Linked DNA regions of Homo sapiens: all the other regions are linked to region 7. Evidence: promoter capture Hi-C in 16 types of primary human blood cells and fetal thymus (Javierre and others, 2016). All regions are on one chromosome and are shown on one strand. The core of a region is centred on a gene start or on the middle of the fragment in contact, and the rest is flanking DNA. Distances in the headings are between cores, read along the strand shown. Region 1 has its middle 14 kb from the start of ACTRT3. Region 2 overlaps LRRC34 (leucine rich repeat containing 34). Region 3 has its middle 12 kb from the start of PHC3. Region 4 overlaps LRRIQ4 (leucine rich repeats and IQ motif containing 4). Region 5 holds the start of MYNN (myoneurin). Region 6 overlaps PHC3 (polyhomeotic homolog 3). Region 7 holds the start of SEC62 (SEC62 preprotein translocation factor).

Region 1 (3,862 bases), core at 504-3,003, 210 kb after region 7:
GTGACATAGCTCACTGCAGCCCTGAGGCTGAGGTGCGAGGGTCACTTGAGCCCAGGAGTTAGCACAGAGGCAAATGCTAAGTAATCTAATTAATAATGCTTTCTAATTTTTTCAGTTACAAAATTAATGTGACAATATCATAAAAAAAGGTGAGAAATAGAGGGACTACAGATGTGCACCGCCAGCCTAATTTTTAAAATAATTTTTTTGAGAGTCAGGAGCTTGCTATATTGCCCAGGCTGGTCTTGAACTCTTGGCCTCAAGTGATCCTCCCACTTTGGCTTCATTTCTACTACCTTAATCTAGTTCACTATCTTTTTTTTTTTTTTTTTTTTTTTTTGGAGAGAGAGTCTTGTTCTGTTGCCCAGGCTGGAGTGCAATGGTGTGATTTTGGCTTACTGCAACCTCCACCTCCCAGGTTCAAGTGATTCTCCTGCCTCAGCCTCCCAAGGAACTGGGATTACAGGCACGTGCCACAACGCCCAGCAATTTTTGTATTTTTAGTAGAGATGGGGTTTCACCACGTTGGCCAGGCTGGTCTTGAACTCCTGACCTCAGGTGATCCACCTGCCTTGGCCTCCCAAAGTGCTGGGATTACAGGTGTTAGCCACTGCCCCAGCCCAGTTCACCATCTTCTACAAAGACCTGACAGGTCTTTCTACTTCTTATCTTGCCTCACACCCATTACCAATTCATTCTTCACAACGGAACTAGAGTGATCTTATTAAAAGGCTAACTGAGCCATGTTTTTTCTCTTCACAACACTTTAGTGACTTCATGTTGCACTTGGAATAAAATCCAAAATTCTTATCAAGGCTTTGTATAATCTGGCCCCCTGCTTACCCCTCTGTGTCCCCACCCAAATCTCAACTTGAATTGTATCGCCCAGAATTCCTATGTGTTTTGGGAGAGACCCAGGGGGAGGTAATTGAATCATGTGGGCCAGTCTTTCCCATGCTATTCTCGTGATAGTGAATAAGTCTCACGAGATCTGATGGGTTTATCAGGGGTTTCCACTTTTGCTTCTTCTCTCATTTTCTCTTGCTGCCGCCATGTAAGAAGTGACTTTTGCCTCCCACCATGATTCTGAGTCATCCACAGCCAGGTGGAACTGTAAGTCCAATAAAATCCCTTTTTCTTCCCAGTCTCGGGTATGTCTTTACCAGCAGTGTGAAAACAAACTAATACACCCTCTTCTTTTCTTGCACTGTGCTTCAGCCACACCAGCCTCCTTTGTACCAAACTCTCATCCTGGGTTCTCTGCTTAAATTGCACTTGTAGTTCCTGGCCCCTTCTCTCCTCCTCAAGTCTTAACTTAGATATCACCTCCTCAGAATCCTCTCTGACCCCCTTTTGAAGCAGGTTACCCCTCCTCTTATGATCTTCTGTTGATTACCTTTATAACATGTTTTCCTAATTTGCAATAAATTATTTGCTTATCTGTGTTCTTCACTGGGTTATAAGGATAGGGGCAGAACCCAAGTCATTGAGTTCATTGACAGATCCCAGGTGCCTAGTACATAACAGGTGCTCAATAATTGTTTGTTGAATGCATGATGGAGTGCTGTTGGGGCAGAGAACAGACCAGCTAATTGTAACTATGATTTCACCAGCACAGAGGCAAATGCTAAGTAGATATCTGTAATTAATAGTGCTTTCTAATGTTTTTCAGTTACAAAATTAAAATTTAGGTCATTATTTGGTACATTTCTTTCCAGTCTCTCTTTGTACCTGATGTATATATTTTATACCTGTCTCTTTTTATACCTGATATATATATTTTAGACAATTATATGTCAAATTCTGCTTTTTTATTTAGTAATAAATTATAAATATTATTCCATGTTATTACAGAGCCTTCAGAACCATTATTTAATATTGTTGCCTAATGTTCCATTTAATGGATGTATCATAATCTATGTAACACTTCACCTACAGATGAATATTTAACTTGTTTTCAATTTTTTTACTGCTATCGTGAATAACTATGCACAAATTTTTTTATGTTTTTAGATTGTTCCTTTACTTAATTACTAAGGGTGCATCACTAACCCAAAGGGTAGTATTTTGTTTGAAGGAGAATTGTCCAGACTTGTATAGAACCTCTGGGTAATCTACCTATGTTACTTTCTCTTCTGGAATTTCCCAAAATAGAATTTATCTTGATCACTATGTATATCTGGTTGTCAACAGGACTAGATCTGGCCACAGCTGCAAACCTTGAGTAGCTATGCAGATTGAATCATTCAATCGTTTCCAGAGTCCTTCTACTACTAAAATAAAGGACACATTATATCTTCTCTGTCTTATCTTTCCTCATCTTCTTTCCTGCCTTGCTTTCCCTGCCAAAAGTTTTGATAAAGCAGGAGGTAAAGATGGCAGGGAGAGAGATAATGGCTAAAAACACAGAATCTGTTTCTCAGAGTTGTGTGTGTGTGTGTGTAGTATTAAGTCACGGGGGTCAAGGGTATCAATGCAGAGGCTGAATACATACATAGTGGTGCCTCTCCTGCATCACACCCTCCTCCTGCATTCAGTTGCAGCCATGCATCATAGGTAGGATGGATTGACTCTTGCCTGTATCCAAGGATGGTTCTAATCCCCTCTCTTGCCATCATGATTGGTTCTGGGATGGCTTCATCAGAACAAAGTGCTGAACTTCAGTTTAATGGCTGAGTGAAGTAAGAGTTTTCTCCCCTTTAATGGGAATGAAGACGTTAGTAACTAGTGTTGCTCCTATCAGTCACTTGCAACTAAGAGGGAGGCCAGTTTGAGGACAGAGTCAACTCACAAAGAAGGGCAAAGCCCAGGGAAACACAGAGAAAGAGAGGTGGAGCTCTGCCTTTGGACTTTCCAAAATGTGTGAGCTTGCCCTGCCTTTCGACTTTTCAAATACATGAGCTGATGAATCACCTTGATTGTTTTAGCCAGTTAGCGTCAGGGGTTTTGTTGCTTCACTCAAAAGTACCTTAACTGATGCAGGAAAATTGGCATGACTGCTATATGATTGCTATCTTACCAAATAATTGTATTGTGGCACTGTCCTAGAAGAGAGGTTAGCGTGGTTTCTGTCCTAGAAGGAAATGTTCTCTACAACACAGGAGGCATGCCTCAGAGACTTCTGGGACCAGCTCTTCTCCCAATTTGTACCCCTCTTCCCTGGATACAATGACAGATGGCATTGTAAAGACAGGACATGCAGCTTTCAGAGGCTATATTTGCAAGTAAATTTTCTCCTATTTGAGACCCTTTGCAACTACCAAATACCATGGACATGGTTTGTGATTATTTGTAATATTAAATAGGAAAGGCACAGGGGCTGTCATTCTGGGGCAGAACAAATCTTGTTTACAGCCCTGTGCTATTCGGGGATGTAGGCCCCAAAACTAGGAAGCTGGGGGCCAGGCGCAGTGGCTCACGCCTATAATCCTAGCACTTTGGGAGGCCGAGGTGGGTAGATTACTTGAGGTCAGGAGTTCGAGACCAGCCTGGCCAACATGGTGAAACCCTGTTTCTACTAAAAATACAAAAAAATTAGCCAGGCATGGTGGCACATGCATGTAGTCCCAGCTGCTTGGGAGGCTGAGGCAGGAGAATCGCTTGAACCCAGGAGGTGGGGGTTGCAGTGAGGCAATTACACCACACTGCACTCTGGCCTGGGCAACAGAGAGAGACTTTGTCTCAAAAAAAAAAAGGAAATTGGGACACAGAGCGTGCTCGGAATATTTATTCTCAGAGGTGAAAGACTTTTTCTTTTTTGTGTATGTGTCCAATGTGTAGCTTTTCAATAATGAGATATACAATAATAAAAACTCACAGTTCTCTCACCTTTCTCCATCTTCCACTCCCACTTTTCCTTTTC
Region 2 (3,552 bases), core at 189-2,688, 170 kb after region 7:
CTTTTTCTGGGATCATCTCTGTAACATCAGATATTATTTACAGGTGCCTCAGAAATGGTTACACAGTGAGACACTGCAGTTTTGATAATTAACATAAGTCTTAAAATTAACTACTAGAGAGTTTGGTGGTTCAAATAACCAAAGATATTAAAACTATGTATTAGTATTACACATCACTGAATGACACAGTTCTAATTCCTCTAAGGTTAAGAAAAATCATAATTATTGATCAGATGTAGCAAAATTTCTGATCTGCTCCCTAATAATTATACCAAAATATGGAATGGGAGAGATAGAGTACAAGCTATCAAAATATTTGGCATGTTGCTCACATAAATACAGACAGCCTTTGATACTACTTTCAAAACAGAAATAATGGTAACAGTTTTCATTTGGAAAGAACGAGGGGGAAAAAGTAGATGTTAAAATTCTCAAAATTTGCAAAAGGACTAACAAAAATTCCACCACTAAAAAGAGTAATAAAACATAGAGTGTTGTCTAAACCACCCTCCCAAAAAAACCAACCCTTACTTTTAGAAAAACATCCATAATTCTTTAGGTTCTACACATCAGTAGCTGAATAAGTTGAGTCTGGAACTGGAACTAATGATGAATGACAAGCTAAAGCAAAAACCAACTTGACTTTTAAATCTTTTAATGTCTAAATTTCCATCTTTCTCCATATTGCCAACCTTACTGACAAACCAGTTCAACGTATTTGTATGACTCTGTTACATAGATACTAAGGATCGTGGCTCATGCCTGTAATCCCAGCACTTTGGGAGGCTAAGGCGGGGGGATCACGAGGTCAAGAGATTGAGACCATCCTGGCCAACATGGTGAAACCCCATCTCTACTAAAAGTACAAAAATTAGCTGGGTGTGGTGGTGCGCTGGGCCTGTAGTCCCAGCTATTCGGGAGGCTGAGGCAGGAGAATCTCTTGAACCCAGGAGGCAGGGGTTGCAGTGAGCCGAGATCGTGCCACTGCACTCCAGCTTGGCGACAGAGCAAGACTCTGTCTCAAAAAAAAAAAAAAAGTATAAAAATTCTACAATGAAGAAATAATTAATAGGTCCGCATCCAATACTATGGAATTGTCTGTTTTAGCCTAAATCTGTAGATTAGATTCAGGGGGGTCATGAACTCTATATAATTGTATGTCCAAATCTGGGATTCCCTTAATTTTTCTGAGGAATGGGTAACTAGCTATCAGCAGATTTTTGAGAATGTATACAATAGGCCTCCTACCGAGCCCCCCTACCTATTCCAATTTATGAACATCTGTGGGACTTGAAAATTTTGACCATAGGAGCTTTGGTCCACAAAATTGGTAGTATAGAAAATCAACTCTAGGAGTCACAAAATGACAAAACATGTCTAATACATTAAAAGTTAGAAATAAGTTTTGCAATATTATAATTTCATTCTGTGTAATTAAATGAATAAAAATCTATTTACAATACCTGGAAAATATTAAAATTCAGCAATGTTATTCAGAATATTTTATTTTAAACTACAAATTAGCACAGCTAATTTGAATATTTAAATTTCCGTAAGCACTGTAAATTGAATACATTTTTTCTTAATGATATAGTTTTTTTCCTAAAAATCCTAGGCATATTCAGACTTAATTCAAATGGGTTGTCTAAAACCAGACAATACAGATGTGGAGCCATTTGTGGTAGATGGACGTGTATATCTTGCAGAAGTCTCCAATGGCCTTAAAAAGCATTATTATTGGACATCAACTTATGGAGAATCTTATGACCACTCATCTAATGCAGGTTTTGCTCTTGTTCCAGTAGGTCAACAGCCATGAAAAAGTAGCTGTAAAATAATTTTCATACACTTGTCTTATTGTTTCACAGAGATTAATATTCTATAGCCTATTTTCTTTTATAAATTAAAACAAGTTACTTTTTTCAAATGTGTAAAAGATAATGACTGTATTAAACTTTGTATAACTGTCTATTGTGAAAAACTGAGTAGGGTAATTTTTTAAAAGAAATTTTACAATATAGAGACTAAAATTCTAACCCTGGAGAAAGAGACCAAGGAACTAGACTAAATTTCTTTTTATAATGAAAATATAACCAAGTAGTGAAATAGCGTACAAGTAAAGGTCATTGTAGGTATCTAACTGAAAGTTATTAAGTAGTATTAATAAAAAGGTTTGTGGTAGAAAATTACCAGTGACTTTCAAAGGGTTTCAAAGTTCAGAAGTTGAAAAAGTATTCTACCTATCCTATTTACGTGTTACAGACAGGTGTTACTAACAATTTCATAAATACAGGCAAATATATATAAACATATACATACCCCTTTCCCAACAAGCCAGTGCTGCCAGCTCTCCCACTCTCCTCTCATAACCACTATCCTGACTTCTAACCCCACAGAGTAGTTTTGCCTGTTCTTGACCTTTATATAAATGGAAGCATACAGTATACACTCTCTTTGTGTCTGGCTTCTTTTGTTCAACATTATATTAGTATGATTCATTTATGTTGTTTCATGTAGCAGTAGTCTGTTCACTTTTCATTGCTTTGTAGTATTCCTCACATGCTGGGTAGTAGGATGTCTACCAGATTCTGGAAAGAGTTTGATTTCCCAGGCTACTGTCTCTTCCTGTGTGCTATAGAAGAGACCCACAAGTTCCCATATTCCCCCAAAGGGAGATTCAGAAGATGGCTGAAGGAGAAGCAAGTAGGCTTACCTTGAGCTTACAGTGGGGTGCAGGTGGTAAACCTGTAACCTGACCTACACTGCTGCTTGAGGCAGAGTTGCAGGTGATAGGGCCTCAGAGAGTTTTCCGCATCCAAAAGAACTGAGATGAAGTCAGTTCAGCCAAGGACAACTGGACTCTGACCAGACTAGGAAAGACTTGTTACTTATTTTATAAGCTGCTGCCTGCCACAACAGAGGTCAGTATAATTAACCCAGAGAATGGAAGGGCTCCACAAAGACTCTGTCTACCCTGATGCCCCTGTCTTGTATGATATGTCTGGACACCATTTTAGAAAGACAAAAGGCAGAAATAAAACAGCATTTCTCCAAAAGATTAAGCATTACCTTAAAATCCCTTAAGATATAAATTCTATCCCCTTTATATCAGACTAGGTTTTAAACTGGCTAAAACTAAAAGTTAATTTTTTCCAGACTTACCACTGGGTATGGGCTCAAGAGGAAGGACATATAAGTTCCATAGGAAAACTCTCATTTTCTCTGCACATCTAAATTATAAAGAGCAAATCTGCAATCATATTGTATGTATTGTTTCATTTTTCTCTTAGCAATCATCCTTTAAGACCCAGTTCAAAGACTGCTTCACCTTACACTGTTGCAGATCATATTATACTCATCATTTTACAATGTTTCAAATTTGAAAGCAAAAAATAAAGCAGTATGTGCTTTTCAGATATTTGGGAAAATAATGATCATTTGTCTTAAACGTTCTCCTTTTCAAACTTTTCTATAGTATTATCATTCATCATGTCTTCTTAATATCTACTACAACCATATCCATCTGGTTTCTGCTCCCACTATTATACTGTA
Region 3 (4,037 bases), core at 1,317-3,816, 230 kb before region 7:
CCATAGAATGAGTTAGGGAGGTTTCCCTCTTTCTCAATCTTTTGGAATGGTTTCAGTAGGATCGGCACCAGTTCTACTTTGAATGTCTGGTAGAATTTGCCATGAATCCATCTAGCCCTGGGCTTTTTTGTTGTTGCTGGCAATTTTTTTTGTGGGGGGAGTTATGGGGTCTCACTGTCACCCAGGTTGGAGTGCAGTGGCATGATCTTGGCTCACTTCAACCTCTACCTTCCATGCTCAAGCAATCCTCCCACGTCAGCCTCCCAAGTAGCTGGGACCACAGGCATCTGCCAGTAAGCCTGGCTAATTTTCTGTATTTTTGGTAGAGATGGGGTTTCACCATGTTGCCCAGGTTGGTCTTGAACTCCTGAGCTTGGGCGATCCACCCACCTTGGCCTCCCAATATGCTGGGGTTACAGGCGTGAGCCATAGCACCTGGCCGACAATTTTTAAATTACTGATTCAATCTCACTGCTTGTTACTGATCTGTTCAGGGTTTCTGTTTCTTCCTGATTTAATCTAGAAGGGTTGTATGTTTCCAGGAATGTATCTATTCCCTCTAGATTTTCTAGTTTGTGTGCATAGAGGTGTTCATAGTAGTCCAGAATGATATTTTGTTTCTGCGGCATCGGTTGTCATTTCTGTTTCATTTCCAATTGAGTTTATTTGAATCTTCTCTCTTCTTTTCTTGATTAATCTAGCTAATGGTTTATAAATTTTGTTTATCTTTTCAAAGAACCAGATTTTTGTTTCATTGATGTTTTGTGTTGTTTATTTTTGTTTCAATTTCTGCTCTGATCTGTGTTATTTCTTTTCTTCTGCTAGCTTTTGGTTTAATTTGTTCTTGTTTCTCCAGCTCCTTGAGGTGTAACATTAGGTTGTGATCTTTCAGACTTTTTGTGATCTTTCAATTTGTGATCTTTCAGACTTTTTGATGTAGGCATTTAGTGCTATAAGCTTTCCTCTTAGCACTGCTTTTGCTTAACCCAGAGGGCTTGATAACTTAGTATCACTGTTATCATTAACCTTAGAGAATTTTTAAAATTCAATTTTGATTTTATTGTTACCCCAAAAATCATTCAGGAGCAGATTGTTTAATTTCCATGTATTTGTGTGGTTCTGAGGGTTCCTTTTGTAGTTGATTTCTAGTTTTATTCCACTGTGGTCTGAGAAGATACTTGATAAAATTTCAGTTTTTTAAAAATTTACTGAGACTTATTTTGTGGCCTATCATATGATCTGTCTTGGAAAATGTTCCACGTGCTGAAGAGAAGAATGTTTATCCTGCAGTTCTCTGGTAGAATGTTCTGTAAATATCCGTTAGGTCCATTTGTTCTAGAGTGTAGTTTTAAATCCATTTTTTTCTTTGCCGACTTTCTGTCTTGATGATCTGTCTAATGCTGCGAGTGGAGTGTTGAAGTGCCCCACTATCATTGTGTTGCTGTCTATCTCATTTCTTAGGTCCAGTAGTAAATGTTTTATGAATCTTAGAGCTCCAGTATTGGTACATATGAATTTAGGATTGTAATATCTTCTTGTTGGATTGATCCTTTTATCATTATATAATTATCTTCTTTGTCCTTTTTTTTTTTTTTTTTACTGTTGTTGCTATTTACTTATTTATTTATTGAGACAGGGTCTGGCTTTATTGCTCAGGCAGGAGTAGAGTGGGATGATCACAGCTCACTGCAGCCTGAACCTACGACACACAAGTGATTGTCCCACTTCAGCCTCCTCATTAGCTGGGATTGCAGGCACACACCACCACACCAGGCTAATTTTTAAATTTTTTCATAGAGACAGGGTCTTGCTGTGTTGCCTAGGCTGGTCTTGAACTCCTGGGTTCAAGGGATCCTCCTGCCTCAGCCTCCCAAAGGGCTGAGATTGCAGGTGTGAACTGCCACACCTGGCTGTTGTTGCTTTAAAGTCTATCTTATCTGATAGAAGAATAGCTACTCCTGCTTGCTTTGGGTTTCCATTTGCATGGAATATCTTTATCCACTCCTTTACCTTGAGTTTATCTGAATCTTTATGTGTTATATAAGTCCCTTGAAGACAACAGATATTTGGTTTGCAATTTTTAGACCCATTCTGCCAATCTGTATCTTTTAAGTGAAGCATTTAGGCTGTTTACATTCAACATTAATATTGAGATTTGAGGCTGGGTATGGTGGTGGCTCACACCTATAATGCTAGCACTTTGGGAAGCTGAGGTGGAAGAATTACTTGAGCCCAGGAATTCCAGAGCAGCCTGGGCAACATGGCGAAACCCCATCTCTACAAAAAATACACACACACACACACACACACACACACACACACACAAACTTAACTGGGTGTGATGGTGCACACCTATAGTCCCAGCTACTCAGGAGGCTGAGGTGGGAAGCCCACTTGAGCCCAGGAGGTGGAGGTTACAGTGAGCCAAGATTGTACCACTGCACTCCAGCCCAGGTGACAGAGCAAGACCCTGTCCCCTCCCTGCAAAAAACAAAAAAACCCAAAAAGGCCATGCCTGCAATCCCAGCACTTTGGGAGGCTGAGGCGGGCAGATCACGAGGTCAAGAGATGGAGACCATCCTGGCCAACATGGGGAAACCCCGTCTCCACTAAAAATACAAAAATTAGCTGAGCATGGTGGCAGGCACCTGTAATCCAAGCTACTCGGGAGGCTGAGGCAGAAAATTGCTTGAACCAGGGAGTCAGAGGTTGCGGTAAGCCGAGATTGTGCCAATGTACTCTAGCCTGGCGCCAGAGTGAGACTCCATCTCAAAAAAAAAAAGAGAGATGTGAGGTACTGTTCCAGTCATCATGTTATTTGTTACCTAGATACTTTGTTTTATTCACTGTGTTATTGTTTTATATGCCCCATGAGTTTTATGCCATCAAGAGGTTCTACTCTAGTGCATATCAGCCTTTTGTTTCAGGATTTAGAACAGCTTTTAGCATTTCTTGTTGGGCTGGTCTGGTAGTGACAAGTTCCCTAAGCATTTGTTTGTCTGAAAATGATTTTATTTCTCCTTTATTTATGAAACTTAGTTTTGCTACATACAAAATCGTTGGCTAGGTTGGGCGTGGTGGCTCATGCCTGTAATCCTAGCACTTTGGGAGGCCAAGATGGGAGATGACTTGAGCTCAGGAGTTCAAGAGCAGCCTGGGCAGCATGGTGAAGCCCCATCTGTACAAAAAATACAAAAATTAGCCATGTGTGGTGGGATGCACTGAAGTGGGAGGGTCACCTGAGCCCAGGGAGGTTGAGGTTGCAGTGAGCCATGATCGTGCCATTCCACTCCAGCCTGGGCAAGAGAGTGAGACCCTGCCTTAAAAAAAAATTCTTAATGGGCCGGGCTTGGTGGCCCATGCCTGTAATCCCAGCACTTTGGGAGGCCGAGGTGGGTGGATCACAAGGTCAGGAGATCGAGAACATCCTGGCTAATACGGTGAAACCCCGTCTCTACTAAAAATACAAATATTAGCTGGGTGTGGTGGCGGGTGCCTGTAGTCCCAGTTACTGGGGAGGCTGAGGCAGGAGAATGGCGTGAACCCAGGAGGTGGAGCTTGCAGTGAGCCGAGATGGTGCCACTGCACTCCAGCCTGGGTGACAAAGCAAGACTCCCTCTCAAAAAAAAATTCTTGCTGGGCGTGGTGGCTCACGCCTGTAATCCCAACACTTTGGGAGGCTGAGGTGGGTGGATCATGAGGTCAGGAGTTCGAGACCAGTCTGGTCAACATAGTGAAATCCCGCCTCTACTAAAAATACAAAATTAGCAGGGCATGGTGGTGCATGCCTGTAATCCCAGCTACTTTTGAGGCTGAGGCAAGATAATCACATGAACCCAGGAGGCAGAGGTTGCAGTGAGCCGAGATCGTGCCACTGTACTCCAGCCTGGGCGACAGAGCGAGACTCTGTCTAAAATAATAATAATAATAATAATAATTCTTGGCTGACTGTTACTCAGTTTAAGGAGGCTGAAGATAGGATCCCAATCCCTTCTGGCTTGTAAGGTTTCTGCTGAGGCCCTTGAATAATTCTACAA
Region 4 (3,590 bases), core at 123-2,622, 140 kb after region 7:
ACCACCAAGCCCAGCTAATTTTTGTATTTTTAGTAGAGATGGGGTTTCACTGTATTGGCTAGGCTGGTTTCGAACTCCTGACCTCATGATCTGCCTGCCTTGGCCTCCCAAAGTGCTGGAATTACAGGCGTGAGCCACCGCGCCTGGCCTACAACTTCTTTATAACAATTCAAAGTTGTTGAAGCCAGTGTCCATAAATATTAGAGACAGAAAAATAGAAAACACTGAAAAATTTTGAGAATATTTCACTCCTCCAGGGACCAAGGACAGGATAAAAATTTATGGTCAGGAGCATTACTAAGGATTACTGCATACAACCCCTTGTCTCCATTTTTTTTTTCTTTTTTTTTTTAAATTTTTTAACTTTTATTAAAACGGAGTCTTGCCCTGTTAACAGGCTAGAGTGCAGTGGTGCAATCTCAGCTCACTGCAACCTCTGCCTCCCGGATTCAAGCAATTCTCCTGCCTCAGCCTCCCAAGTAGCTGGGATTACAGGCACGTGCCATCACACTCAGCTAATTTTGTATTTTTAGTAGAGATGGGTTTTCACCATGTTGGCCAGGCTGGTTTGAACTCCTAACCTCAGGTGATCTGCCCTCCTCGGCGTCCCAAAGTGATGAGATTACAGGCGTGAGCACCGCGCCTGGCCTTGCCCCCAGTTTTTGAATGCCTTATGAGTAGGCATCAGCTTCCACTCTCTCCATTCTTTTTTCATTAAAGAATAACTATAGTTTGGGCCAGGCACGGTGGCTCACGCCTGTAATTCCAGCACTTTGGGAGGCCAAGGTGGGCAGATCACGAGGTCAGGAGATCAAGACCATCCTGGCTAACACAGTGAAACCCCGTCTCTACTAAAAAAAAAAAAAAAAAAAAAAAAAAAAAAAAAAAAAAAAAAATTAGCCGGGCGTGGTGGCGGGCGCCTGTAGTTCCAGCTACTCAGGAGGCTGAGGCAGAAGAATAGCGTGAACCCGGGAGGCAGAGTTTGCAGGGAGCCGAGATCACGCCACTGCACTCCAGCCTGAGCGACAGAGCGAGACTCTGTCTTAAAAAAAAAAAAAAAAAAAAAAAAAAAAAAGAATAGCCATAGTTTGAAAACATGTGCATAAGCCTAGGATTCAGAAAAAAAAAAAGAAACATTTAAAATCTGGTCCCAGTGGGTGCTCAGCAAAAGCATATTAAGTGGATGGATGAATGTACAGACAAAGAATGGCTTAGTGTAGTGGAAAATGTTTGGCTATTTAAGTAGGAATCATATATAGTTTTCCAGGTCAATTATGTAGCTCCAAGAAAGTCTCCTGCTAATTTCACCACTCTGGGCCAATACTTTTTCTTTTACTCAAGTGACTCCGTGACCTAGATGAAATTTACTGCAGGATCCCAACTCCAAATTCTGGCATGTAGTAAGTGTACAGTAAATTATTGTTGGTAGTGTAATAAATGTATGGGTAAATGCTAATTTTCTTAGCAGTCGCTATTTACCTTTCCATTTTAATAAATGACTTAACTGCCTTTGCAAGACTCTTAGCTATACTAATCAGGACACCTGGCCTCCCCCATGTCGCTAAGTGAGCCCTGCAAGGAAGTAATGGGATAGACTCAGTTCTCTGAACACTGAGATAGGTCTTTAGCAAAGCAAGGAAGCCATTTGCCATAGGAAATGCTGGCCACAAACTCTGCTAGGCTGTGAATCTACTAAGTTTCCTCACCTTGTGCTTGGCAAATGGCATCTGGAAGTTGCTTAAGCAAATTGTGCCGGCAATCAAGAACTTCTAGGTTAGGCATTGACCCCAAGGATACGGGCAGGTACTCCAGATGATTGTTCTCTATATATAGCTCTTTGAGACTCTGAAATAACATGAGTGTACCATAATAATATACCTTGATTAATTAATTATAATAACCAGAATCACCTGTGGGTGCTCATGCATTTTTTTTTTTTTTTTTTTTTTTTTTTTTTTTCACTTTCAGTGGGGAAATTACGCATTGAGTTAAGGGAAAAAGCATGTCTAAAGGACCATCATCAAGACCCAAAATTATTTTTGAGTAAATCCATTAGACTTAGTTTCCATTTATGCAGGGAAAAGAGACTACAGACATCTAGTGCTTATTTGTTTCACCAGAACTTTATGGAAAAATAATTTGAATAATTTAACTACATTTATCATTAACTCCTTTTTTAATAGCTAATTGTCTGTGGCAGTTGCTACAGAATGATAATTGCCTCAACTATCAACCCAATATTGCCTCAGTGAAAGTAGCCAAAATGCACAGGGAATGGATTTGAATGTATTCAAAATAACTATTTTCAACTTCACTGGGCAAAAATCTAATGTTTGTACTTCACCCTAAGATTGTGGCATGACAGGTACAAAGGAAAAGCTGATGAAAGGTGTTCTATGAACACAGGGCAAAGGAATGGAGAATTAGGAAGAGACACCCTGTGTCATAGTGAGAACTACCTATGCTGTGCATGGCATTGCATGACTGGGGTTATGTGGTGGCCCACGCCTACTTTATCATCATTAAGAGTGCAGCAGGTCAGACACGGTGGTTTATGCCTATAATCCCGGCACTTTGGGAGGCCGAGGCAGGTGGATCACCTGAGGTCAGGAGTTCGAGACCAGCCTGGCCAACATGGCAAAACCCCGTCTTTACTAAAAATACAAAATTAGCCAGGTGTGGTGGTGGGCGCCTATAATCCCAGCTATTTGGGAGGCTGAGGCAGGAGAATCGCTTGAACCCGGGAGGTGGAGGTTGCAGTGAGCCATTGCACTCCAGCCTGGGCAACAAGAGCGAAACTCTGTCAAAAAAAAAAGTGCAGCAACAGGAACATGAAAAAAAAAAAACAGTTCTTTAAAGGATGAATATATGAAGACACCCTACTATGGCTACTTTGAATGAAGTTATCCTGTTGCTTTGCAAGTATTCCTCACAGCCCTGCAGATCCAGGAAGCTGGTGCAACATGATTTCCCTTTTCCAATCAGGGAGAGAGGTCACACTTCCCCTTACAGGAAATCCTGGGCACCAAAATGTAGGCTCCCAGCATGTCACTTGTATGATACTCTTTAACTTCAAAATAGTCCAGTTTTCAGGGGGCTACTTATAAAAAGTGGAAATTAAATGGAAAGAGTTATGACTCAATTTCTGCAAATGAAACACACCAAATCACACAGTGGAAAGAAGTATGGCAGGACATATCCAACAGCAATCACAATGAAATGTTGAAGAGTTGTTCACGGACAGTGGAAACCTCAAAATGTAAAAATGATTGCTTGTCTGAAGCTGGAAATCTAGTATGGATGATTCTACATCCAGCCTGTGGAGACCTCATATTTTCTCAGTTTCAGCCAATTTAAGAGGCAGTGACAGGTGCTTCTTAGCCTGCTCATTTGGGGAGGCTTACCTGCAGTTTCCTAATGTGTTCTGGCACATAGGTAAGTTTGAATCCCTGGTCTTGCCCAATGTATAATTTCTCTAAAGACGCTAAAGAAAGGACTTCCTCCGGAAAGGAAAGGAACTCATTTCCTGTTAGTCCAAGTATCTTCAGTTTTGAAAGTGAGCCCAATTCTGAAGGTAACTAGAAGTATTC
Region 5 (3,752 bases), core at 633-3,132, 190 kb after region 7:
CAGTGCCTACATTATCAGATTCCTCAGAACCCACTTCTTGTTAATGCAGTGACATCAGTAAGCATCTTAGAGAATCATTCTAGCATCTCTGACCTTACTTCAGTATTAGTACTGGTAGGTTAATAGAGATAACAGGAGTCAGAATGAGGGAGACAGAAGACCAGAGGAATTCAAGGACCAAAAAGCAATGGGAAACTGGAAGTAACTTAGAATTTTTTGTTTGCAGCCTGGCCAGCATGGTGAAACCCTGTCTCTACCAAAAAATACAAAAATTAGCCAGGTGTGGTAGTGCACACCTGTAGTCCCAGTTACTAGGGAGGCTGAGGTGGGAGAATCGCTTGAACCCGGGAGGCAGAGGTTGCAGTGAGCCGAGATTGCCCCACTGCACTCCAGCCTGGGTGACGGTGAGCCCGTCTCAAAAATAAAATAAAATAAATTCATTGTGTTTAATGTTCAAGTTTACATAAGTGAAATCACAGGCTTTGTTTCAGTAAATAAACGTGTCAGAAATCTTACTGTTTATTATCTGTGCTTATGAAAAATATTGCCTGCTCATCCTAAATCAGTGATACTGATTTCTTTATAAAAACAAACATTGTGTGCATAAATAGGTGAAGAATTTGAGTTCAGAGAATGAATGGAAAAAATACAAATCTACTTTTGCTGTGAAGACTACTGACTAGCTTTTATAACTGAAAATAAAATGTGTACTTTACCTGTCAAGATTTAAAGTTCCTGTGTATATAAACTCCAACAGTTTCTGAAATCCATCAGCCTTCACCTGACTCTGATCAAGAAAGACATTGTTCTCAGAAGTGCTTCTGTAGATCGCACCAAAATACTCACTAAAGGAGGCCAGCACATTCCTATGAGCTTTAAACTGGAATTCCCCAATCACTATGGTACAGTCACAGAGAAAACCTGCTTCCCGCTGTTTGTTCAGTCTCTCTAAAAGGTGCTCACAGTGGTGCGAATACTGCATTTTGATATCAGAATGGAATTTTACCCTTGATCTAAAAGACAAAAAGAAACAGTAAATCAGTAACCGTAAGTTCTCATCAACGTTCAGTGAGGGAAGGGACAGAGGACATAACTTAAACAATTTTAGCCCCCTTGAAAATCCTTATCAAACATACATGGTTAAGAATGAAGGGATGAGTGCCTTTCTATCTTTGGTTACCTTGATCAACTAACACAATCCTTTGGACACATCAATAAGTGACGGTGAATGGCAACACTTCTACCACCTGCAAAAAGCACAGCAAAACCTGACGCTTTCACATCTGTTGAACCCTCAGATTTTCAAGCTCAGTAGACATACTTATGTTACAAAAAAATTTTTTAAACCACTAAGACATGATCTCTTGGGACAGATAGGGGCAGAACAGTACGAGTTTTTAAAAACTGCTCTCAAGTCACCAAAACCTGTTAGTTTCCCCAGTGCAGTTTCTCCAAAACGAGAGGTGGCTGCCCAGAAAGCCGGGAATGCGCCCGGCCATGGCTTGCTGTCAAAGGTTCTATCACTCGCGCTAAGGAGGCCACACCTTCTCCCTTCCCACTCTCTACGCGAGGCGGCATCCGAGAGTGACAACCAAAGCCAGTCCCTCCTCGGCTTCTGCCGCCCTGCCCTCTGCCCAGCTCCCACTCCCGCGAATTTCCACAGCAGAGGTTGTGGCCCAGGCCACCCCGGGGCTGCCTAGCCCAAGCCTTCCACCTGCGCCCCGACCCGTGCTGGAACTCCAAGGAGCCTGCCCTCTGATGGCCCAGGCTCTAGAGAGACCGGGATGGCGGGCTGGGGGTGAAGTAGGAACTCACCGATAGCAACCCAAGGGGGGAACACAGTTTCTTCACTCTGTCTCCGCCATCTTGGGAGGACGTCACCGAGCCACGCTCCGCCCCTCCCTTCCTTCCACGGTGGCGTCACGTCCGGCTCTGTCTTCCCGTGGCAGTGCGGGAGGTTCTGGGGCCATGGGGGTCCGGCGCCGGCCAGGGCGGTACAGGATGTACCACAGAGACCCACTCCCCAGCATGCCAGGGGTCCCCCGAAGCAGCAGGCGTCATGGATACGAGAGCTGAGGGCTCGCTAGCTCGCAGCGCTCCGCCTGTCTTCCTCATCGCGAGCATTCTGGTGCCGGCAGTCAGCGTCTGGCGCTCTGCCGGGGCTCTGCGCCGAGGCCCGGCAGCACAGCACCGCGGGCCTCTCTCCTGAAGCCAGCTGCGCACTGCGTGCGGGGGCTTGTAGTTGCTTGTCTTCTCCCATCATCCTCCCCTTCCTCGGGGCCCCACCGGTGGAAACTGCTGCATGTGTACTCGGATCTCTGCCATAGGGGATTTTTTAGCTGAGACTTGGCACCCCTTTCCCGCTTACGTACCTGAAAACTCTTGGCACCCCCTGGTTTTTTTGTGCCCCAGCCAACTGTAGCTCAGCTTCCAAGATGCCCTTACCTGGTGACAGAAGTCTGGGATGCACGAAAGCGGAGCAGCTGGGCACAGTGGGCATGCGCAACATTAGAGGAAGGTGGGCTTTATACCGGAAAAGGTTTTCCTGCGTCTGGACCAGAAGATTTTTAATACGATTATTTACAGCCACTTCAGACGAAAAACCAAGTGATATAATACAAAAATGCTCAGGAGGCGACAGGACTAACCACTTTTACACTTTGATCTTTCCTTCTAGGCTGTACATTATTTTTTCAGTGTTAGCTGGTGAGTCAAATTCATTTTTTAAAACCCGGGACACATGTTCCACGTGGCAAGGCTTCCATAAAAACATTTGGTGAACGAATAAAGTAACAAAAACTTACAGTTCAGACTCTCAAATTGCTATCATGTCTTTTGAAGGACCGGCATACATTAAGCTAAGGCTTCCCTCAGAAAAAAAAACAAAACAAACAACAAAAGAAAACAAAGCGTGATCTCACGCTTTCTTCCAAGCGAAGGAAAAAAAAAAAAAAAAAAAAAGGGATTTTTTAGTGTGTTTCCGCCCGGTTTCGAACCGGGGACCTTTCGCGTGTTAGGCGAACGTGATAACCACTACACTACGGAAACCCCACTTTGGAGAGGGTTTTGTAAAGTCCTTGATATGTAAGTGTCAATTCGCAATTCTCAAGTGATTATTATCAAATTGAGAGGAATGAATATAATGTATTTAAAGAAAAAAACAGAAAAGGAAAAATAGCCTATGCCCAATTGAACAGAGCTGAAACCATTTCAAAAGCTTGAATCTGCACGCACTTTCTTCCAAAGTGCCCGGGTACCGCAGTAGAAACCAGGCACTCCCGAGTTGCCCTTCCTTTGGGTGGCCTTTTTTTTTTTTGTCTCCCTGGAAAGGCGTTTTATTACACATCCTTTCCGCAGGTTGAGCTGCTCAGAGTCCGGGGCGAAGCAGGGGGCTTTCGTTATTCAGCCGCGAAAAAGCCATCCTTTCAGCTTCTGGTGGAAGGACGTGTAAAATTACTTTTGAATTTCCTCTTTTTGCTTCCGAAGACCAAGCAGAAGTTCTAAATTGACTGCTTGTTTTCAAATTCTCTACAGATGTATGCAGAATCAGACACCAAGATGCGTTTATTGACATGCAATGTACTTTCAAATTTTTCCAAACTTGAATTTCATATGACCTGATAAACTTCACTTTTCCTGCAAAAAGACAGGCACGTCCTTCAGCCTAAAAATCAAGAGTAGCGAATGAGGCTTGCAGATTACACCAGAAGGATAGAAATCGAAATATATATATTTATATTTATTATATATAA
Region 6 (3,591 bases), core at 798-3,297, 140 kb before region 7:
GAATTTAGAACTTTAAAACTGGCTAAGATTATTCCTAGTTTGGTGGGTTTCCTATAAAAATGAGATTTGAAGTGGGTCGTGGATTTAATGCATAGATTTAGGATAAACAGCGAGAACATTTCAGATTAGAACACTAAGTAAACGCACTAAGAATGTGTAAGTGCTAGGTAACTTCGAGAGAGGGCAGTGAAGAGTAGAGGGTTGGATTAGAGGGGTAGTGGGAAGTATGACTGGCAGAGTGAGTTTCTGGAGAACCTTGGATATTAGACAAGCAAGTTTGAAGTTAGGTGGATGGTTTGAAGGTGGGTGGATAGTACTGAAGATTTTTAGGAAGGTGTTACGAATAAAAGAGTGTTTTTGGAGACTTTGATGGCCGTCTGTAGGATGTATGTATAAATTTTGCATGTAATTGACACCTGTAGTCATGGCAGGAAGAGGAAGGAAAGGACTGATGTTCTCAAAGGAAAGGACTGATGTTATCATATCAGCAGGATATGATATCAGAGTAAGGAAAGGAAGATGTAGAGATAATATATTTCATAGGGGAGAAATGTTTACATAAAATGTGCTAAAATTTTAAATACTTTCTAGTTTTAATTTCCCAAGGTAATTTTATAATTTTCATGTTTCTGTTACTATGTACTTCAGTGTTTATAGGAAGTACTATAGTGTAAAATGGTGAGGTCACTTATTTAGTGGCTTTGGTTTTAGTAGTATATATAGTTTCAACATAAAAAACCTCTGGTAAGCATATAAAGGATAAACTGTGGTTCTCTTTAGACTGGTTCTATAATGAGAGTCTCCAACCAGTAGATTGTGATTCATCAAAGTAGCTTATGGTCTTCCTTGGTATATCTTCACACTGATTATGATTTCCATCTCATTGCCTCTTTTTGCTGCTGTCCTCATGTGATTTCAGGTCTTTGGGGGAAATAAAAAATAACTTCCCCTCATGCCAGAAAATGGGGGATCTAGATTAGGAAGCAGGTTTGGCCACTTCAGTAGAGATCCAGAATAATATTTGATTAAAGAAGATAGGAATTTAATTTTCTCTGACATAACCCAAAGATCAGTCCAGGGCTTATGTGGTAGTTCCTTAGTATTGGGCACTCAAGCTCCAGGGTCTTATGTCTCTGTCATCTGTAGAATGTTACTTTTATTTCCAAGATGGCTGATCTTCATGATCACATTCTAACCAATGAGATGGGGGAAAGAGCACCATCTGGAATTTGTGAGCATTTACAGTCATATGCCATTGGTTACAAATCAGCCACACCTAGGGCAGAAACTTGTTTTTAATCTGGGTGGCCATGTTCGTAGGGTTTTGTTACTATGGGAGAAAAGCAAAGAGTGGATGCTGGAGAATTACCAGCTGTCTCTGCCATAGAATCCCATTTTTATTAGCTAAATCAGCAGTTTTAAAAAAGTGTTTTGGCAGTTTTCTAATTCATAAATGTAAAAGAGTGACCTTGGTAATATTACCAAATTTGTTAAAAATCTGACTGAACATTAGAACAAGAATTTTTGAATCTGTTAATGTCCCTCGCTTCTTTATGAGAAATAAAACTTATACTACTCTTATTTTTGTTCGGTTAACTGTAAACCATTTCTGTTTGGTATTTCCTCTCTGTCACCAACAAAAACATTTCCTTCTCCTTCATAAGGTATTCTGACTTAATATCAGGTGTTGGACATTGCTATGTTAATTAACAAAAGATCTTTGAAACAAAGCTTTTAGCATATCCTGTTCCTGGAATAACCCTGAGGAATGGACTCTTTCAGGGCTGGAACTAATGGCAGTGGTGGTTGAGTGAGAAGTTCTGTCTCCCTATAGGCTTCTCAGTCAGATCAGATTATAGTAAGATCAGATTATAAGCATGACAAAATAAAAACAGTACTTCTAGGAATTATGTTTTCAGGTCTCAGGAATGTGTTGGTGGATCTCCTGACTGGGCCGTTGGAAGGTCATTGGAAGGGGCAATTTTTAATTTACTTGTTTTGAGACTGTTTCTTCCTCATTGCTACTAAATTGATGACTTTTGCTTATGAAGGTAGTCCTGAGAATTTCCTTAAACTGGTCACGTGTCAGTTCATGATTTCATTATTCAGGATAATGTATTTGGATGCCCCACCAATGTCAAATATTAATTCACAGTTTGTTTTTTTAGTAGTTCTTGCTACTTCACTTAATTTAGCACTTTGCCATCTGCTTCCCCAGTAAAACTGAGGTAATGTGAGTACCTGAGCTCACTGAGTACATGCCACCCATGTCTACATTTCTGAGTCCTTGTATTTATCTTAGTCTTTATTAAATGAGTAACATAGAAAGAGCACACATATGGAGTTCACAGCTAAAAGCTTTAGTTAGTAAAATGCTTTTCAGTAAAATGCTTTTGTTGCTTTTTTTAATATGACTTGGCAGAGGAATTATGATGATGCAAGAAAATGGCAAAATGTGGTTGATTTAAGAATTTAACAAGTTTTACCAAAGTATTTCTTGAGCGCTATTACATGTCATACTACCCTTTTAGTTCTTATGTGGAAAATAGGAAATGGAACTATCACTTTTAATGCCTACTACCTTTTGGGCACACATATAATTGCCACTTCAATTCTTTGGGAAATGTATTATAAACCCCATTTTACAGATGAGAAAATTGTGGGTCATGAAGATTTAGTTGTTTGCTTATGGGTGACTCCTGCCGAGTACCCGGGGATTTAGCATGGAAGGGTCTTTGCGCTTTGTGTTACTGCCTGAAGATAGTTACATATGTAGGGTGGAAGAAGGACATTCTAACTTAGTAGGGAGCACCCATTAAGTTAAAGAAAAGCATGATGAAAAAAAGCATCAGTGGTTGGGAATTATGAAACTGATTTTTAAGCCTAGTTTTTATTTTAATGCAATATAACTAAAAGGAACTGTTTTATAATTAGATATATGCATCTTTTTAAAGAATTTTATGTATGTATATATATGTATGAATGAGATGGGGTCTTGCTATGCTGCCCACACTGGTCTCAAACTCCTTGTCTCAAACGATTCTTCTGCCTCAGCCTCCTGATATATGCATCTTTATATATTTTATCATATACTGCAGATCTTCGAGAGAGTTAATTATTTTGCATGCTCCTGTAAAATCAGACATATCACAATTTCACCATTTTGAAGCCATCTTTATTCTCTCCAGTTAGAATTAAGAGTTCCCTGCTATGTATCTCCACAGTGCAATTTATCAAAATTCATATCCCACCCTCAGCTTTTTGAAAGTGTTCCTCCTGGAGGATAATGCCTATGTTATTCATCTTCATTTCTCTCCCAGTGTTTATAAATAATTTTTTTTTACATTTTAGATGGATTGTAAGCAAGATGAACCTTTTAAAATGTTATGCTTATTTATATAGAAAGAAACTCCTTGTAATTTTTATGCAGAAGCAAGAGGGAATTAGTAGCAGTGGTTGTGTTTTGAAGGCTTTTGCCCTGCCAGAGTGGCTGTGGATTGAAAAGTTAAAGGGCCATTGGTTTGCTAGCAGTATCCAACCAAAGTATAGACTTAAAGAAAATTTGCATAATTAAATTTTTGGAACCTTTTT
Region 7 (4,037 bases), core at 1,276-3,775:
CCTCTTGCTAGAAACTTCGATGGGACACGAGAATCTGAAATTATACTGAATTACAAAGAAAAAGCAAATTAGCTACTTTTTTTTTTAACCCTGAACTTATTTGTTTGTATCAAACATTTCTCCCCAATGTGCAAAGTATAATTAAAGATCACTGAATCTATTAACCATCTTTCTAAACATAAAACATCAAGCAACAAATGACAGAAACTCAGTTGGTATTACAGACCTTTTGCCTAAAAATTCTACAACAGGATCTTTTTTGTAAGTTAAACTCTGAACTTTTCATTACATTTGATCTTTTTATCACAAGTGATGTATTATAGTTTCTGATTATCTGGAATGATAAAACTGAGGTACTTTCTAGGCTAGTATATTTTCATAAGTGTGTTAGGCTGCATGAAAGTAGTACTCTAAGATCTCTCACAAACATTTTATACAGCCATGTAGAAAATTTCAAGGACAGAAAAATAAATGTCACTTAATTTTGCAGTATGCCCAGTAGATTTTAATAATCAATCCTCAAATAATAGAAAGTAAACAGCTATACTCTACATAACTCCCAACCTAATAGTTTACTGAATAGAGGGTTGTTAATCTTTCTTCAGCATATCAAAGAGTAGTTAACAAAAAATAAAATAACAATCCAATCTAAATCCTTCATCCTGGGTAAGGAGTAGAATAGAAGGGAGGGGCTGCGTGCCAAACACTTTTAATAACTTTTAATAAATAAGTTGACTCACCTATTATTTTCACAGCAATCTTAAAGTTTTTCTTTTTTCTTGCTTTTTTTTTTTTTGAGGTAAATATGTTTTCTTACCGATGCAGACAGGGAGGTAAAAATTAACTTGCTCAAAGTTACTCAGCCAATAATTGGTGGAGGTGGGGTACAAACAGGCAGTTTGGCTCAAGTTTTAGCTCTCTGCCACTGTCACATTACTCCACAGCCTCTGTTTAATATAAGATCACAACTAAATAAGAGCAGCTATTCAAAAGGTGAATTATATAGCCCTTACAACAATATTAAAGAGCAACTGGAATTGTAAAACAATGTGTATTGAAGGGCATAAAATTGTACTGTCAAGTGTAAATCTAAGGAGTTCTGTAAGTACAAATCTGACAGACAATTTCAATATACAATCTAATAAAATACTGTATACCCACGTCAGAGGAATAACACTAACTCTTGAAAGATTAAGAACAGTATAATTAGAAACTTCTACTGATCTTAAGACCTAGTCTTATCTGTCTGAACTCGAAATCTGCCTCTTTCTAATTCCCTTCTGCACCCTGTTCGGAACTACTTTATTTCTGCCAAATTCCAAAATTCCAAATTTACTGATCATGTGTGTCTTTTTCACAGCACTTAAAAAGTTTACAGAAGAATTTTAACTTGCATAGCTCAAAACATCTGTATTGTACGCCAATAAATCGATAAACTTAAAAAAAAAAAGAAGGGATAAAATGGAAGAAAGAAAAAATCATTCTAAGCAATGAAATAGTAAGGAACAGAAAGGCAATGATGAATGTAACAATTTATGATTATAGTAACAATTTACTACATGTGATCAATTTGAGGGCTTATGAAGGTTTCTCAGCACATCAGCTGATGAGACGACTAATAAATATCCTGAGTCCAAGATGTTCTACATAATTAATCCTCTTGGCAAAGAACAAGAACCAGGGAAAATCGCAAGGAAGAAATGCACAAATGACACGCATGTGGAATTAGGGGGAGATGTTATGTACGTTACTACGAGGATGACACACTGGCATGTGAAAGGTTTCTGGGCTCCACCAGCTCGTTGCAGCACCAACGAGGTTGTGGTTGTTTACACCACGTCGCCCGGAAAAAAGCCGGCAAGCTTCAAGTGGACTATTAAGTTAATAATATTGAAGGGAAAGAAGGGCAACGCAACTGAACATCTGGATGAGCAGATCCCTGCCTAGGCCCCGAGGCAGCTGACCAAGTCCAGATCATTCCCCCTTACGGTCTATGCGCACAAAGAACCAGCTGCTTTAGGTCAGTCCGCCGCCTCCTGCTACCCCTATTACCGTGGCCTTAATTTCAGGCCAGCTAAGGCCAGAGGATGGGGTGAAGGGAGGGGAGGAGCCCCGGGAAGGGTCAGCGTCTGCGCCCCAGGGGAGGCTGACCTTCCAGCTCAGGCCCGGGACAGCGCGACCACAGGAACTCCAGGCCCACAGCCGCGCCTCCGCAGCCGGATTCTGAGCGCGGCGCCTCCTTCCTTCCCCTGCTGCTCCACCACCACCTCCGTCTCTGTCTCCGCCGTCGCCAACACCGCCCCCCCTCAGGCCCCTCACAACGCGCAGCCTGCAGCCAGCTGCCTCGCGGCGGAACCCCACCCCACCCCACCCCACCTCGCCCTTGCTTTCGCTCGCCCTTTTAGGGGGCTTTCCCCGCCCCTTCCACTATCCAGCGCGCCGAAGCCCCCTGCCCAGAGCTCGGCTTTGCTACCTGGATCCGCTTCTTGTGTCTCCTGCGTTCCGCCATGTTGGCCGCTCCGCCCGGTTCCCTCTGACGTGGAGCGAGGAGGGGGCGGTGGAAACCTCGCGAGAACGCGCCCCGAGGCCCGTTATGTAATCCGCCGGCTGGCGCCCCTGGAATGGGGAGGTCGGCCGCCTGGCGGGGCCAGCGGTCCTTAGCGGTGCCTTCTCTCCCCTCTTCCCTCCGCTCCTGCTGTGCGGGAACTGGAGAATCGTTAGGACGTGGAGGAAGCAGAGAAGTGGATCAGAGAACAGGAGGGCTGGGAAGAGTCCTGGTTTCTCAATCCTGACTGAGCATCTGAATCACCTGAGAAGCTACTAAAATGCAGATTCCCCGACCCCATCCCCTTAGAGTCAGAGTCTGTGCATTTAGGGTGCGGCCTTTCTCAGAGGGATCGACTGAGACCTACTGAACCCTAGAAGTCTTTACCTGAGGCAGTTCCTGCAATGTACTGTATATTTCATGACATTCCATGTAAAAGATGACAAGACCGAGACCGTTGAGTGACAGAGATAAGAACTGACTTATCTAAGGCTCCACAGGTGGTAGATGGCAGAGCCGAGACCTGAGCCAATTATCTTTTCTCCTGCACTGTGCGGGGTAATACAGCTCGTTTAAAACAAGCTGGAGTCTCCATTCCGTTTTCCGCGTTGCTTCTCACAACTCACTGTTAGAATCCAGAAGTAAGAGAACCCGGGGAAGCGTAAGGAAGATGAATAGGACAAAGATTCTAAGAAGGTGGGAAGGAAGAAGGCTGCAGTCTATTTCAAGTCTGGTGAATTTCAATCACTGTAGCCTTTATTGTTATTTTAGAGCCACCTAGACCAAAAGAGAAGGAGCTCAAATTGCTGGTAAGTGCTTAGATAGAAATTCCCTTGACTGACTTTATAGAGATCTTTAAAGCGTTTTTAATTGTAGAAAATTGGGAAAATTCAGAATAGAAAGATGTTCTTTTTTTTTTGATGCTGAGTTTCGCTCTATATTGCCCAAGCTGGAGTGCAGTGGCGCAGTCTCGGCTCACTGCATCACCGAACTCCTCGTCTCAACTGATCTCCCTCCTCAGCCTCCTGAGTAGCTGGAACTACAGGCATGAGCCACCACACCTGGCTAATTTTTACTTTTTTTGTGTGGAGATGGAGTTTCCTTATGTTGCCCGGGCGGGTCTTGAACTCCTGGGCTCAAAACGATCCACCTGTCTCTGTCTCCTGAGTAACTGGAACTACAGGCGTGAGCCACTGTGACCGTTCAGTTTATTTTCTTATAGTATTCTGACTTTGTGTGTGTGTGTGCATGTGTGTTTGTATTTATATTTTTTCCTGTTTCCCAAATTGAGATCATATGCAATAAGGCAGCTGCTTTTTTCACTTAATGTTAGGTTGTAAGCGTTTATTATACCATTAAAATTTTTTTCCAGGTTTCCCATATTATATATCTAACCTAAGAGCAATTAAATATGTAAGTAAGGCAAATTGCAGCATCTTGATGCCTAATTTTTTAATAAAGTAAGATTGCTGAATTTTTTTTTTTTTTTTGG

Evidence for each region. Contacts are between HindIII fragments. The CHiCAGO score rates a contact against its expected background, and 5 or more counts as called.
Region 1: a fragment that was not itself captured here is called in contact with the fragment with the promoter of SEC62 in region 7 in 5 of 17 cell types (total CD8 T cells, naive CD8 T cells, total B cells and 2 more); the score reaches 7.4 in total CD8 T cells.
Region 2: a fragment that was not itself captured here is called in contact with the fragment with the promoter of SEC62 in region 7 in 4 of 17 cell types (naive B cells, total B cells, naive CD8 T cells and 1 more); the score reaches 13.3 in naive B cells.
Region 3: a fragment that was not itself captured here is called in contact with the fragment with the promoter of SEC62 in region 7 in 4 of 17 cell types (neutrophils, total CD4 T cells, fetal thymus and 1 more); the score reaches 6.5 in neutrophils.
Region 4: a contact is called between a fragment that was not itself captured here and the fragment with the promoter of SEC62 in region 7, in 3 of 17 cell types (total B cells, naive B cells and monocytes). The highest score is 11.7, in total B cells.
Region 5: a contact is called between the fragment with the promoter of MYNN here and the fragment with the promoter of SEC62 in region 7, in 11 of 17 cell types (naive B cells, total B cells, total CD8 T cells and 8 more). The highest score is 13.5, in naive B cells.
Region 6: a contact is called between a fragment that was not itself captured here and the fragment with the promoter of SEC62 in region 7, in 1 of 17 cell types (total B cells). The highest score is 5.7, in total B cells.

What each region holds. Positions count from the first base shown.
Region 1 is chr3:169,753,975-169,757,836 of GRCh38, reverse strand. No RefSeq gene overlaps it. Among named protein-coding and RNA genes, the nearest start is that of ACTRT3, 14 kb to the left of the region's middle. The HindIII fragment of the contact is 5,302 bases long and covers 1-3,862 here.
Region 2 is chr3:169,791,902-169,795,453 of GRCh38, reverse strand. It overlaps LRRC34 (leucine rich repeat containing 34), which reads left to right. Exons shown (of 11, transcript NM_001172779.2): 11 at 1,616-2,451. The coding sequence ends at 1,819. Among named protein-coding and RNA genes, the nearest start is that of LRRIQ4, 19 kb to the left of the region's middle. RefSeq lists a cis regulatory region at 1,097 and an enhancer at 1,025-1,169. The HindIII fragment of the contact is 5,168 bases long and covers 1-3,552 here.
Region 3 is chr3:170,191,360-170,195,396 of GRCh38, reverse strand. No RefSeq gene overlaps it. Among named protein-coding and RNA genes, the nearest start is that of PHC3, 12 kb to the right of the region's middle. The HindIII fragment of the contact is 3,214 bases long and covers 960-4,037 here.
Region 4 is chr3:169,828,747-169,832,336 of GRCh38, reverse strand. It overlaps LRRIQ4 (leucine rich repeats and IQ motif containing 4), which reads right to left. Exons shown (of 6, transcript NM_001080460.3): 3 at 3,405-3,578; 4 at 1,707-1,845. Among named protein-coding and RNA genes, the nearest start is that of LRRC34, 18 kb to the right of the region's middle. The HindIII fragment of the contact is 8,323 bases long and covers 1-3,590 here.
Region 5 is chr3:169,771,526-169,775,277 of GRCh38, reverse strand. It overlaps MYNN (myoneurin), which reads right to left and starts at 1,882. Exons shown (of 8, transcript NM_018657.5): 1 at 1,816-1,882; 2 at 717-1,013. The coding sequence starts at 982. It overlaps TRV-AAC1-1 (tRNA-Val (anticodon AAC) 1-1), which reads right to left and starts at 3,048; the gene lies at 2,976-3,048. RefSeq lists enhancers at 1,783-2,077, 1,716-2,219, 1,793-2,342, 3,233-3,332. The HindIII fragment of the contact is 7,916 bases long and covers 1-3,219 here.
Region 6 is chr3:170,106,971-170,110,561 of GRCh38, reverse strand. The region is part of intron 11 of PHC3 (polyhomeotic homolog 3); the gene reads left to right. All of the region lies in intron 2 of LOC105374209 (a long non-coding RNA gene), which reads right to left. Among named protein-coding and RNA genes, the nearest start is that of GPR160, 71 kb to the right of the region's middle. The HindIII fragment of the contact is 627 bases long and covers 1,734-2,360 here.
Region 7 is chr3:169,965,295-169,969,331 of GRCh38, reverse strand. SEC62 (SEC62 preprotein translocation factor) reads right to left here and starts at 2,525. Exons shown (of 8, transcript NM_003262.4): 1 at 2,474-2,525. The coding sequence starts at 2,509. It also overlaps the pseudogene FHL1P1. RefSeq lists enhancers at 318-850, 2,407-2,846. The HindIII fragment of the contact is 8,040 bases long and covers 1,865-4,037 here.